Linked DNA regions of Homo sapiens: region 1 is linked to region 2. The links are contacts of gene promoters, found by promoter capture Hi-C in human tissues and cell types (Jung and others, 2019). All regions are on one chromosome and are shown on one strand. The core of a region is centred on a gene start or on the middle of the fragment in contact, and the rest is flanking DNA. Distances in the headings are between cores, read along the strand shown. Region 1 overlaps CYP11A1 (cytochrome P450 family 11 subfamily A member 1). Region 2 holds the start of ISLR (immunoglobulin superfamily containing leucine rich repeat).

Region 1 (6,004 bases), core at 535-3,034, 190 kb before region 2:
AAAGCTTTTTTTTTTAATCTGGTGAAAATACACTGTAGCATAATAATCTACTGTTATAACATCAGCCCTCTTGCATGGGAAAGCTTTTCTACAACCAGAAAACATGCATGGAAAATAACAATGGAATGAAATCCCTTTATAAAATGTTTAAATGGCTGACCAGAAGACCAAATATACCTGAAGCTTTAATTGTTTTCCTAGGAATATGGGATCAAGCATTGGTTATAAACAATTTTTTGTTGTTATTTAGTTTTTATTTCATAATCATAAACTTTAACTCAACTCTGCAGTCCAGCTAGGCATGGAAGGGAACTGCAGCGAGAGCACAAAGATTCTAGGATACTGCGAGCAAATGGGGTGGAGGGTGCTGTCCTGAGCTACAGAAGGAATGGTCTGGTGGTTAAGATAAAACACAAGTCAAACTTATTAGAGTTGTCCACAGTCAGCAATGGTGATCTTCTTCCTGGTCTTGCCATTCCTGGACCCAAAGCGCTCCGTGGCCTCCACAATATTCATGCCTTCTTTCACCTTGCCAAAGACCACATGCTTGCCATCCACCACTCAGTCTTGTCAGTGCAGATGAAAAACTGGGAACCGTTTGTATTGGATCCAGCATTTGCCATGGACAAGATGCCAGGACGTGTATGCCTTAGGATGAAGTTCTCATCATCAAATTTCTCCCCATAGATGGACTTGCCACCAGTGCCATTATGGCATATGAAGTCACCACCCTGACACATAAATCCTGGAATAATTATGTGAAAGCAGGAACCCTTATAACCAAATCCTTCCTCTCCAGTGCTCAGAGCATGAAAGTTTTCTGCTGTTTTTGGAATCTTGTCTGCAAACAGCTCAAAGGAGACGTGACCCAAGGGCTCGCCGTGACTGCGATGTCAAAGAACACGGTGGGGTTGACCATGGCTGATAGTACAGGGCTCCTGGTGGCAGTGACGGCATCTGCAAAGCGACAGGTTATAAACTATTTTAAACAATTTCAGTATTAGCTGGTTTAACATGAAAGTCTTTTCTTGATATGTAATTAATTTTTTGTTGTTGTTGTTTTACGTGGGTTAGTAGCTTTATACAAGAAAATTTGGTCATTTTTGTGGTTTACAATAACTTAACATAATTATAATTGTGATTGGTAACATATACTTAGACATTAGAATTTGAGAAATCCCATACAATTTTGGAATATATTATTCACAAAAATATAACCTAAAGAAGATTTAACATCATTTTGTCAATCCCATGTACCTAAACATGTCAAATAATCCTGTTTACCTCTTTTCTGGATGTTTTCAGGGGCCCTCTGATTCATCTAGAAAGCCAGGCATTAGGAAAGACAATTTTGAAACTGAAGTTTGATTTTGGAATTCCAGATTACCGTAAACTATTTATTTTGCCAAAATGATGACTCAGAAATTTTAAAGAAGCAAAAACCTTTTGTAACCTTCCACACACACAAAAAAACCCCCAACACTTTCTACTGTTCTTATACACCTTGCATGTAAAACTGTTTCTAGTAGTCTTAATTGCATGTTATAATGGCAAATTTGTTTTTTTTGAGACAGAGTTTCACTCTTGTTGCCCAGGCTGGAGTGCAATGGCATGATCTCGGCTCACTTCAACCTCTGCCTCCTGAGTTCAAATGATTCTCCTGCCTCAGCCTCCCCAGTAGCTGGGATTACAGGCAGGCACCACCTTGCCCAGCTAATTTTGTATTTTTACTAGAGATGGGGGTTTCACCATGTTGGTCAGGCTGGTCTTGAACTCCTGACCTTAGGTGATCCACCTGCCTCGGCCTCCCCAAATGCTGGGATTACAGGTGCGAGGCACTGTGACTGGCCTATAATGGCGAATTTTAACATAAAACCTGGTAAGTTAGGCCAGGCGCGGTGGCTCACTCCTGTAATCCCAGCACTTTGGGAGGCCGAGGCGGGTGGATCATGAGGTCAGGAGTTCAAGACCAGCCTAGCCAAGATGGTAAAACCCCATCTCTACTAAAAATAATAATAAAAAATTAGCCAGGTGTGGTGGCGGGCGTCTGTAATTCCAGCTACTCAGGAGGCTAGGGCAGAGAATTGCTTGAATCTGGGAGATGGAGATTGTGGGTGAGCCGAGATTGCGCCACTGCACTCCAGCCTGGGGGACAGAGTGAGACTCTGTCAAAACAAAAACAAAAACAAAAAAAACTGGTAAGTTCTGATAAAGTTTCTGATAAGGTTTGACTACTTCCAGCACAGCTAGGGGCATGGCTAACTCCACGTGTCCCCAGGCCTTACCTAGCTGGAAAGCAGGCAAGTTAAACAATTTTCAAAAGCCAAAGGAGTAGCTTATGATGTTAAAGGATTTAGCAAACCTAGTATTTGAACATAATGTACACCACATGTTTACATTTTGAAGACAACTGTATTTTTCCAATAATCTTGAAAACTGTCTTTATTTCCCAACTATTGCTAAAGTCACATGAACTAAAAGGCATTACACTTTCTACTTTTCTGACAAAATATTTGACTTAAGCTTTTATTATTATTAAACCAATTAATTTAAAATCTTACAGAGGAGATATACGTGACTTCTACTTTATATTTAACCAGTTTGCATAGAGGGAAAGAGCCCAGAGACTGACTCATAAGAAATTCTTATCCTTTCACCGGCATGCCAGATTTCAGGGTTCTCTCTTTCACGCGTGTCCCTGTGAAGAGACCACTGAACAGGCTTTGTGTGAGCAATAAAGCTTTTTAATCACCTGGGTGCAGGTGGGCTAAGTCCGTAAAGAGAGTCAGCGAAGGGAGATAGGGGTGGGGCCGTTTTATAGGATTTGGGTAGGTCATGGAAAATTACAGTCAAAGGGGTTGTTCTTTGGCAGGCACGGGCAGGGGACACAAGGTGCTCAGTGGGGGAGCTTTTGAGCCAGGATGAGCCAGGAGAAGGAATTTCACAAGGTAATGTCATCAGTTAAGGCAGGAACAGGCCGTTTTCACTTCTTTTGTGATCCTTCAGTTACTTCAGGCCATCTGGGTGCATACGTGCAGGTCACAGGGGACATGATGGCTTAGCTTGGGCTCAGAGGCCTGATATTCCTGTCTTCTTATATTAGTAAGAAAAATAACATAAAATAGTGTTGAAGTGTTGGGGCAGCAAAAATTTTGGGGGTGGTATGGAGAGATAATGGGCAATGTTTCTCAGGGCTGCTTCAAGCAGGATTAAGGGCAGTGTGGGAACCTAGAGTGGGAGAGATTAAGCCAAAGGAAGATTTTGTGGTAAGGGGTGATATTGTGGGGTTGTTAAAAGGAGCATTTGTCATGTAGAATGATTGGTGATGGCCTGGATGCAATTTTGTATGAACTGAAAAACTAAATGGAAGACACAAGGTCTGAATAAGAGAAGGAGAAAAACAGGTATTAAAGGACTAAGAATTGGGAGGACCCAGGACATCCGATTAGAGAGTGCCCAAGGGGATTCAGTGTAATTACTTGTTTGGTTGGTGAGTTTTTGGGCTCTATTCTTGACAGAGTCCTTTTTTTAAGTTGGAGGCTGAGTTTGGTGAGGTGTGTTTTTAAAAGACCATTAGTCCGTTTTACCTTTCCTGAAGATTGAAGACGGTAAGGGGTATGAAGGTTTCACTGAATACCAAGAGCCTGAGAAACTGCTTGAGTGATTTGACTAATAAAGGCTGGTCTGTTATCAGACTGTATAGAGGTAGGAAGGCCAAACCGAGGAATTATGTCTGACAGAAGGGAAGAAATGATCGTGGTGGCCTTTTCAGACCCTACGGGAAAGGTCTCTACCCAACCGGTGAACGTGTCTACCTAGACCAAGAGGTATTTTAGTTTCCTGACTTGGGGCATGTGAGTAAAGTCAATTTGCCAGTCCTGGGCAGAGGCAAATCCCTGAGCTTGATGTGTAGGGAAGGGAGGGTCCTGAGGAGTAGTAGACTAGCAGATGGAACCCTGAGAAGTGATTTCCTTGTGGATAGATTTCCATGATGGAAAGGAAATGAGAGGTTCTAAGAGGTGGGCTAGTGGCTTGTAACCTACATGGAAGAGGTTATGAAATGACGACAGAATAGAATGGGCCTGTGAGGCTGGAAGGAGATATTTTCCTTGGTCTAAGAACCATTTGCCTTGTGTGGGAAGAGATTGATAGGTGGAAGTTTTAGTAGGGGAGTAGGTGGGAGTGACCGATGAGAAGGAGAAAAACTGGCTGTGAGGGATAGAAGTTGGAATGCTAGCTGCTTTTTAGCTACCTTATCAGCATAAGCATTGCCCAGAGCAATGGGATCTGATGCCTTTTGATGGCCCTTGCAGTGAATGACTCCAGCTTCCTTTGGAAGTAAAGCGGCCTTGAGAAGAGTTTTTATTAAAGAGGCATTAAGATGGAGGACCCTTGTGTAGTGAGGAGACCTCTTTCAGCCCATACAACAGCATGGTGGTGCAGGATATGGAAGGCATCTTTAGAGTCAGTATAAATATTGACGTGTAATTCATTTGCAAGGGTTAGGGCTCCAGTTAAGGCAATGAGTTCAGCTTGCTGAGAGGTAGTGGAGCGGGGCAGAAAGTATATGCATCAGGTGTGAGGAAGAAAATAGATTTTGGAAGTTATGAGAACTGGAGAGAGTGAGTTGAGCACAGTTTGTGATTTTGAGGGCCTCTAAAAGTATTAAAGCAGCGACAGCTGCCGTACACAGACATGAGGGCTAGGCTAAAACAGTAAGGTCAAGTTGTTTGGATAGAAAGGCTGCCGGGCGCGGTCCTGGCTCTTGTGTAAGAATTCTGACCGCACAGCCCTGCACTTCAGCTGTGTGTAATGAAAAAGGGTTGGATGAGTTAGAGAGAGCTAGTGTGGGAGCAGCTTCTAGGGCTGTTTTTAAGGAACAGAAAGAGGAGTGGCGAAAGAATTTAGGATCTATGGGATCAGCTAAGTTTGCATTTTTAAGTTTATATAATGGTTTAGTCAGGATGGTAAAACTAGGTATCCAAAGGTGGAGTATCTAACCATGCCTAGGAAGGAAAGGCATTGTTGCTTTGTAGAAGGGGTTAGGGTTTGTGAGATTAGCTGGACGTGATCAGCAGGGAGAGCATGTGTGTTTTCATGAAGAATTATGTTGAGATAGGTAATGGATGAGGAAGAAATTGGGGTTCACTGAAGTAATGGGGCCTGTCCGTGAAGACTTGCAGCAGTACAGCCCAGGTAATTTGCTGAGCCTGATGGGTGTCAGGGTCAGTCCAAGTGAAAGTGAAGAGAGGCTGGGATGAAGGGTGCAAAGGAATAGTAGAGAAAGCATGTTTGAGATCCAGAACAGAATAATGGGTTGTGGAGGGAGGTATGGAGGATAGGAGCATATATGAGTTTGGCACCATGGGGTGGATAGGCAAAACAATTTGGTTGATAAGGCACAGATCCTGCACTAACCTGTAAGACCTGTCTGGTTTTTGAACAGGTAAAATGGGGGAATTATAAGGAGAGATTATAGGCTTTAAAAGGCCATGCTGTAACAGGCAAGTGATAACAGGCTTTAATCTTTTTAAAGCATGCTGTGGGATAGGATATTAGCATTGAACAGGGTAAGGGTGATTAGGTTTTAATGGGATGGTAAGGGGTGCATGATCAGTCACCAAGGAGGGAGTAGACATGTCCCATATGTGTGGATTAAGGTGGGGAGATACAAGGGGAGGATGTGAAGGAGGCTTTAAACTGGGGAAAAGGGTGGCAATAAGGTGTGGCTGTAGCCCAGGAATAGTCAGGGAAGCAGATAATTTAGTTAAAATGTCTTGACCTAATAAGGGAACTGGGCAGGTGGGGATAACTAAAAAGGAGTGCATAAAAGAATATTGTCCAAGTTGGCACCAGAGTTGGGAAGTTTTAAGAGGTTTAGAAGCCTGGCTGTCAATACCCACAATAGTTGTGGAGGCAAAGGAAATAGGCCCTTGAAAAGAAGGTAATGTGGAGTTGGTAGCCTCCATATTGATTAAGAAGGGGACGGACTTACCCTCCACTG
Region 2 (5,932 bases), core at 1,371-3,870:
TCACTAGTTTGGAGCAGGTCTAGAAGTTGGGGATAGCAGGTGCTCTAGAAGAGATTAGAAGGAGAGGTAGGAAAATGTGAAGTCACCCATGCAGGCCTCAGGAGTTGCCAACCCCAGACCCCTGCAGCACTTAAAGGGGCATTGGTAGGGGCAAGGGGAGGAGTTAGGGAAGCCCTGGGTGGGGCTAGAAGGAGGTGAGGAAGAAGAAGAGGAGGAGGCTTTGGCCCAGCAGGAGCAGGCCTGGGGGCAGCTGCCCAGGGACCCCTTCTGCGACTGCAGCCTCAGGGTTCCCAGCACGGCTGAGGTAGATGATGACCACATTGTCCTCCGGCCCTGATGGCTGCACCTCGTTGTCAACCGTATAGCAGCCCTTTCCCTCAACCGCTTTGCCATGGAACCTGCGCCCCAGTGTGTCCTCACCACCCTCACCGGGCGTGGCCAGTGCCACGTCCACTGAGCTCTCAGCACTGCCCAGCTCATTGGTGGCCAGGCAGCTGTAGGTGCCTTCCTCCAGCTTGCCAAAGTCGGGGATAAGCAGGCTGCCATTGGCAAAGGCCTGGAAGCGCGGCTGGGAGCTGGCCACAGGGGTGCCAGGCAGGGCACGCCCATCAGTGCCCACGTTGGGGCTGGTGATCTCCACAATGCCACTGGGTATCTGGATGTGCCAGTGAAGCTGAGGGGCCGGCTGCCCGTCCACATCACAGTGCAGTGCCAGCACAAAACCAGGCCGCAGCTCGGCACCATCCTGGCTGGGTTGGTAGCTGAGCTGCACTGAGGGCGCCGAGCATGGCAGTGGCGGCAGGCGGCTCAGCGGCGTACCCTTGAGCACATGGGGTGAGGTGCAGGCGATGTTGTCCTGCTCCGGGATGGACACGGCCGTGGTCAGGGCCCATGTCTTGAGCCACACGATGCCGCAGGTGCAGTCGAAGGGGTTCTCGTTGATCTGCAGGTGGGACAGCGCGGTGAGCGGGGTGAAGGTGCCCTCGGCCAATGTGTGCAAGCGGTTGTGGTTGAGTTGCAGCGAGCGCAGAGCACGGAGGCTGCGGAAGGCGTCGCGGGGGATGAAGGTCAGCTCGTTGCTGTCCATCTTGAGCAATTGGAGGGCACTGAGGTTGTGCAGGTCGCTCCAGGCAAAGTCAGAGATGAGATTGTGGCTGAGGTCCAGGCTCTTGAGATGGCTCAGAGAGGCCAGGGCTCCGGCGGCCACCGTGCGGATCTCATTGTGTGCCAGCCACAGCGACTGCAGCAGGGGCACCTCCCTGAAGGCACCCTCCGGCAAGCCTGGCAGCCGGTTGGCTGACAGGCTCAGTGTAGTCACATTGGCCGGGAAGCCAGGCGGCACGGATTCTAGGTCGCGGTAGGCACAGTCGGCGATCTGGAAGCCATACTTTTCCCCACAGTCGCAGGGCTCAGGGCAGGCCTGAGCCAGGCCCAGGAGAAGCGCCCACCAGAGCAGATGCAGCTCCTGCATGGTGCCTCCTGCAGAGAAAGGCATGTCACCCAGGGGATCCCGAGAACCTGCCAAAGGGACTCATTCCTCCCACAAGCCCAGCCAGAGCTCTTTCCCATCAGGAGGCCCTGTCCCACATAACCCAGCTAAATCCCAACACCACCTAGCCCACCGCCCCCATCCTACGGAAGGAGAAACTGAGGCCAAGAGAAGGGCGGAGACTTGCCCGAGGTCACGCAGCCAGGCAGGATGAAGACGGGATGGAAGAGGACCCCAGCTCCTCCTCCGAGTGGAGAGTTCTCCCTGCCTCGGCCTGTTCCTAGCTGACTTTATGACTTGAAATCTGTTTTCCAGCCACCCCCCTCCCCCAGCACTTTGCAGAACCTCCCCCTGCCCTCCCACATCCTGGCCGCAGTCCCTCCCACCGGAGCCCCCCATAGGTATGCTTTGCCTTGGCCCAGACGAGGCCCCTTGTGCAGTGCACACCACCCCCATCCACTCCACCCGCCCTCTCCCGCTCCTCCGGCCATGACCGCAGCAGACACCAGGCCTTTTCTGTGGAATCACACCCGTGGCCTGTTCTGTTCAAACTTAGCCAGGCAGCTGCCTAAATAAACCCCCGCCAGGACCTCTCAGCTGACTTGGGTGAGGCCAGAGGCTCAGCCCAAACGCAGCTGGGATTTCTGGGGCCTCAGTTGTGGGTTGTGGAAGAAGCAGATGCCCCCTGGACGGCTCCAAGCTAGGGATTGTCCCACGCACCTCAGACCAGCAGGGATGGACCAAGAGGGAACCAGCCCCTATGTCCAACAGGCCTCCCGCTCCCGCCGCTGGCCCTGGAGCCCTCCTCCCCACTGGCTTACCTTCAAGCTACTCTTAGTCAAGCGGAGCCTCTTCTAAGGTGGAACCAAAAAGCAACAGAGGACCTTAGCCCTGAGAGTCTGCAGGGCCACGGGCGCCCAAGGGAGGACTTGGATGCTGGGGCGAGGGGCAGCCTGGTCCCACCCCACCTTCGATGTGCAGGCCTGTGCCCTCCCTGCCCCAGACAGGGTGCCTGGAACCATCCACTGAGAGGAGGCGGCAGGGAGGAGCCCGGGGCAGCCCGCGCACTCCCTCCTTCCAGCAAAACAACTGCTTCTCTGCAGCAACAAGGACCTGTGTTTCATAAGTGACACCAGAAACTTGAGGGGGGAAGAGATGCCAAATTTTTTTGGGTTGTGTTTTTTCTCTCTCTCTCACTCACTTTTAGCAGCTTCAACTTCCTTAAAGACACAGCACTGTCTGGAAAGGACCCAAGAAATGATGGGGCCAGGAGGATTTTAGCGGGGGAAGGGCGAGAAATTGAATCTCATGGAAGGTGGGAGATTTCCACTTCAAACAAGAAAAAACGGGAAGCTTTTGTCCAAGCCAGGGTTGTATGTGTGTTGGTGTGTATACGTGTGTGTGTGTGTACAAGTTTGTGGGTGTGAGGGTGCGTATTTCTGGATTTGTATGTGTGTTTGCATGGATGTGGGTATGAAACCATGTACATGAGTTTGTGTGTGAGTGTGTGTGTGTGTCTGTCTTGGTGTGGGTTTGTGTGTGGAAGTGAGTGTGCATCCATGTGTGTGTGTTTCAGTGAAAAGCCAAGAAGGCCAAAGTGTACAAAGCAGATACCAACCCTTCGGTGAAAGCCAAGATGTTAGGCATTTTTTTTTTTTTTAAGAAAACATATCCTGCTGGCTCTGAGACTGAGCTGCGCTAAATGCATGTTGTTGTCCAGGGAGCTCCCAAGACTCCAGGCCCCGCCCCTCACTGCGCTCCCCACTGGCTGGGGAGGAAACAGGGAGGCCTGGCTCAGAAAACTCAGGGCGGGAGCCTGTTGACCTTCAGTGCTCCTGGCTGGGATTCTGAGCCACCCAGGCCCACTGCCCACTGGGCACCCAGAGGGGAGGCCAAGGGGCCGCACTCCCGGAGAGTTCTCTCTGTGTCCCCCACAGGGCCCAAAATCCCACTGTTGGTGCTGGACATCTACGCGGTCAGCATCGGCCTCTCTGAGCTCCACTGTTCCAACACCAACTGTGTGGAAGGGGCAGACGCCTCCAGGGTGAGGATATGTGACCCCTTTTCCAAACGGGAAGGCCCAGGGGAGGGGAATGGGGAAACAAAAGAGGCCCAAAACGAGGGAGCTGGAAGAGAAACCGAAAGATGAAGGAGCCCAGAAAAGAACTTTGTAGACTGAAGAATTTTGCTCTCCACAGACAAGCCTACCGTATCCCCTCAGTAGCCCTCCCCAAGCTTCCTTGGCCTTCCATCTGATAACTGGTTGAATTCTGCTCATGACTCAACTTACCCTCTCAGCAGGGCCAAGGGCAGACAGGGCTCATCTTTGGCTGAAAGCATCCCCAGGAAGCCTGCCCCAGCTCATCACACCCCATTCCCTGTCACCAAGCAAGGCCACAGAAGTCCCCAGCATGCTGCCTGCAAAACACCCGAGTCTGATGCTGAGGATATTATTATGGTCCAATGGAGAGCACCCTCTCTTTCCCCTGCAGAGGAAGCCCTCTCTTGCATCATCCTGACTGTGCTGGAGAATTTCTAGGAAAGTCCTGAATTTGGTGGGCCAACCAGAGGCTGCAAGAAACACATCCAGGGTTCAGTAAACCAGAGGGGAGACTCAGTGACCTCAGTGTCAGTCAGGGAGGGCTTCCTGGTGGAGGGGGCTTCACTATGTTCTGCACAGCCCATACACACACCCTCACCTGCACAAAGTCTGTGCCACCAGCTTTACCTCCAGGGTGCTCTGAGGAGCTCATAGTTCCCACCCCACCTCCCTCCTTGCAAGCACATCAGGGTCAGAGTACAAGCACCTCCTCAGCCCTCAGTTCCCAGTGACTGTTCTCTCAGACATTCCTGACTTTTCTTCATAGCTCCTCCTATAAGCTGTGATTATTTATTCATGCGTGCTTAATGTGCGACCCCTTACTAGAGAGGAAGCCCACTGAGGGCAGAGGCCTTAACTTCCCAGGTGCTATTGATCTCCAGCACAGGGAAGACACTCTGTAAGCGCCCCCTTCATGGCATGATGGACAAGTTGGGTGGTCATCAGAAGGAAGCATTTTAGAGCTCACCCACTTCATCTCCTCATCAACTTACAGATAGGGCCTTTGGGCCCAGGCTAGGGAAGGGGCATGCCCAAGACATTTTAGAGAATATTTCATACAGTGTAGGAGACCCATGCTCTGTTGGGTGGGTGAGTATGTCAGCAGCCTTCTGGGGGCAGGGAGTCTGTCCCCTCATTCCCTACCTAAGACCTTAATGACAGCCAAACACTAAGCTCAGACTCCCACCTCAAAACAGATGTGGGGGGCTGAGGGCGGGAAAAGTGGGAGGGACCAGCCCACCTGGGCAGAAATGAGACTGTGCGTGCTGGTCACTGATGTATCTTCCTGGTCTGCTCAGGTCCTGCCACTGCCTGCAAGGTGTGGCCATACCCGCTTCCACCAGGAAGGACAATAAGGCCGCCAGGATCTCAGCCAAGGACTATTGACTCTCCAAGGTGTCTCACAGTGGGACAGGTGGGCCTGCTCCTCAGCAGAGCCCAGGAGCAGTTGTGCAGGCCTCTGAGGATGGGGCGTATGACCTCCTGGGTTGCCCCTCTGCTCTTCTCTTGCTGTCAGAGCTCAAGTTCTTTCTGTAAAGCCCACCTCACAGGAGATCATGCCAGCAGGCAGGGAGACAAGTCAGAAGTCGGGCTCCCTGATCTTTTCAGGCTGGGAGCTTCCTGTGGGCTGTCTGGGCTGCCATCTCCCCTCTCCTGGCCTCCTCTAAATTGGGCTCAGGCCTGAGATGGGGACCCTTGGTGAGTATGTGCGGCCCTGACTGTCCCCAGAACTAGGAGGCCAAGCTTGGGAGCCCCTCCTGTGAGTCCTGGCCCTGTCTCCTGTGGGTCCCTGGCAGCTTGTAGGGTGACCAGCCAACAGTCCTGGTTCACCTGGAACTGATGGGTTTTCTGGGACATGGGACTTTCCATGCTAAAATCGAGACAGTCTCAGCAAACCAGTACAGTTGGTCACCCTAGCAGGGGAGGGGGGCTCACTCCCTCCCACAGTTTTTCTTTCCCCCTGCTCCCCTTCCTGCCTGCAGAGGTCCAGCCCTCTCTCCTCCCATTCCGCTGCCTCTCGCTCTGCTCCTGCTCCTGCTGCCCCTAGCCAGGGCGCCAGCCGCACCCCAGCTGTGGCTGCTCAACCAGGACTCCCCCACCCCAGAAGGCCTCACTCCCACTGACCAGGGGCACCACGTCAGCTTTTCCTGGAAGGCAAAAAAAAAGATCCTGATGAGAAGATGGAGCGAGAGGGACAAGCCCAGCAGAGACAGAAAACTGGAGAGAAACAGAGAAATGAGAGAGACACCAGGAAAGAGAGGGAAAAACAGAGAATCACAGCCTCCTTTCTGGAGGTAGAGAAAGGAAGCAAGGGAGAAAGACCCAGAAAGAGAGATGGAGGA

What was found. The method cuts DNA at HindIII sites, captures the fragments that hold promoters and counts their contacts. A contact is called where the count stands out against the background at its distance.
Region 1: a contact is called between a fragment that was not itself captured here and the fragment with the promoter of ISLR in region 2, in 6 of the 25 tissues and cell types used here (H1 embryonic stem cells, liver, lymphoblastoid cells and 3 more).

What each region holds. Positions count from the first base shown.
Region 1 is chr15:74,356,467-74,362,470 of GRCh38, reverse strand. All of the region lies in intron 1 of CYP11A1 (cytochrome P450 family 11 subfamily A member 1), which reads left to right. It also overlaps the pseudogene PPIAP46. Among named protein-coding and RNA genes, the nearest start is that of CYP11A1, 8.2 kb to the left of the region's middle. The HindIII fragment of the contact is 5,215 bases long and covers 1-4,391 here.
Region 2 is chr15:74,170,398-74,176,329 of GRCh38, reverse strand. It overlaps ISLR (immunoglobulin superfamily containing leucine rich repeat), which reads right to left and starts at 2,620. Exons shown (of 2, transcript NM_005545.4): 1 at 2,311-2,620; 2 at 1-1,479. The coding sequence starts at 1,471. The coding sequence ends at 185. RefSeq lists enhancers at 910-1,898, 1,899-2,886, 2,887-3,875. The HindIII fragment of the contact is 13,967 bases long and covers 1-3,283 here.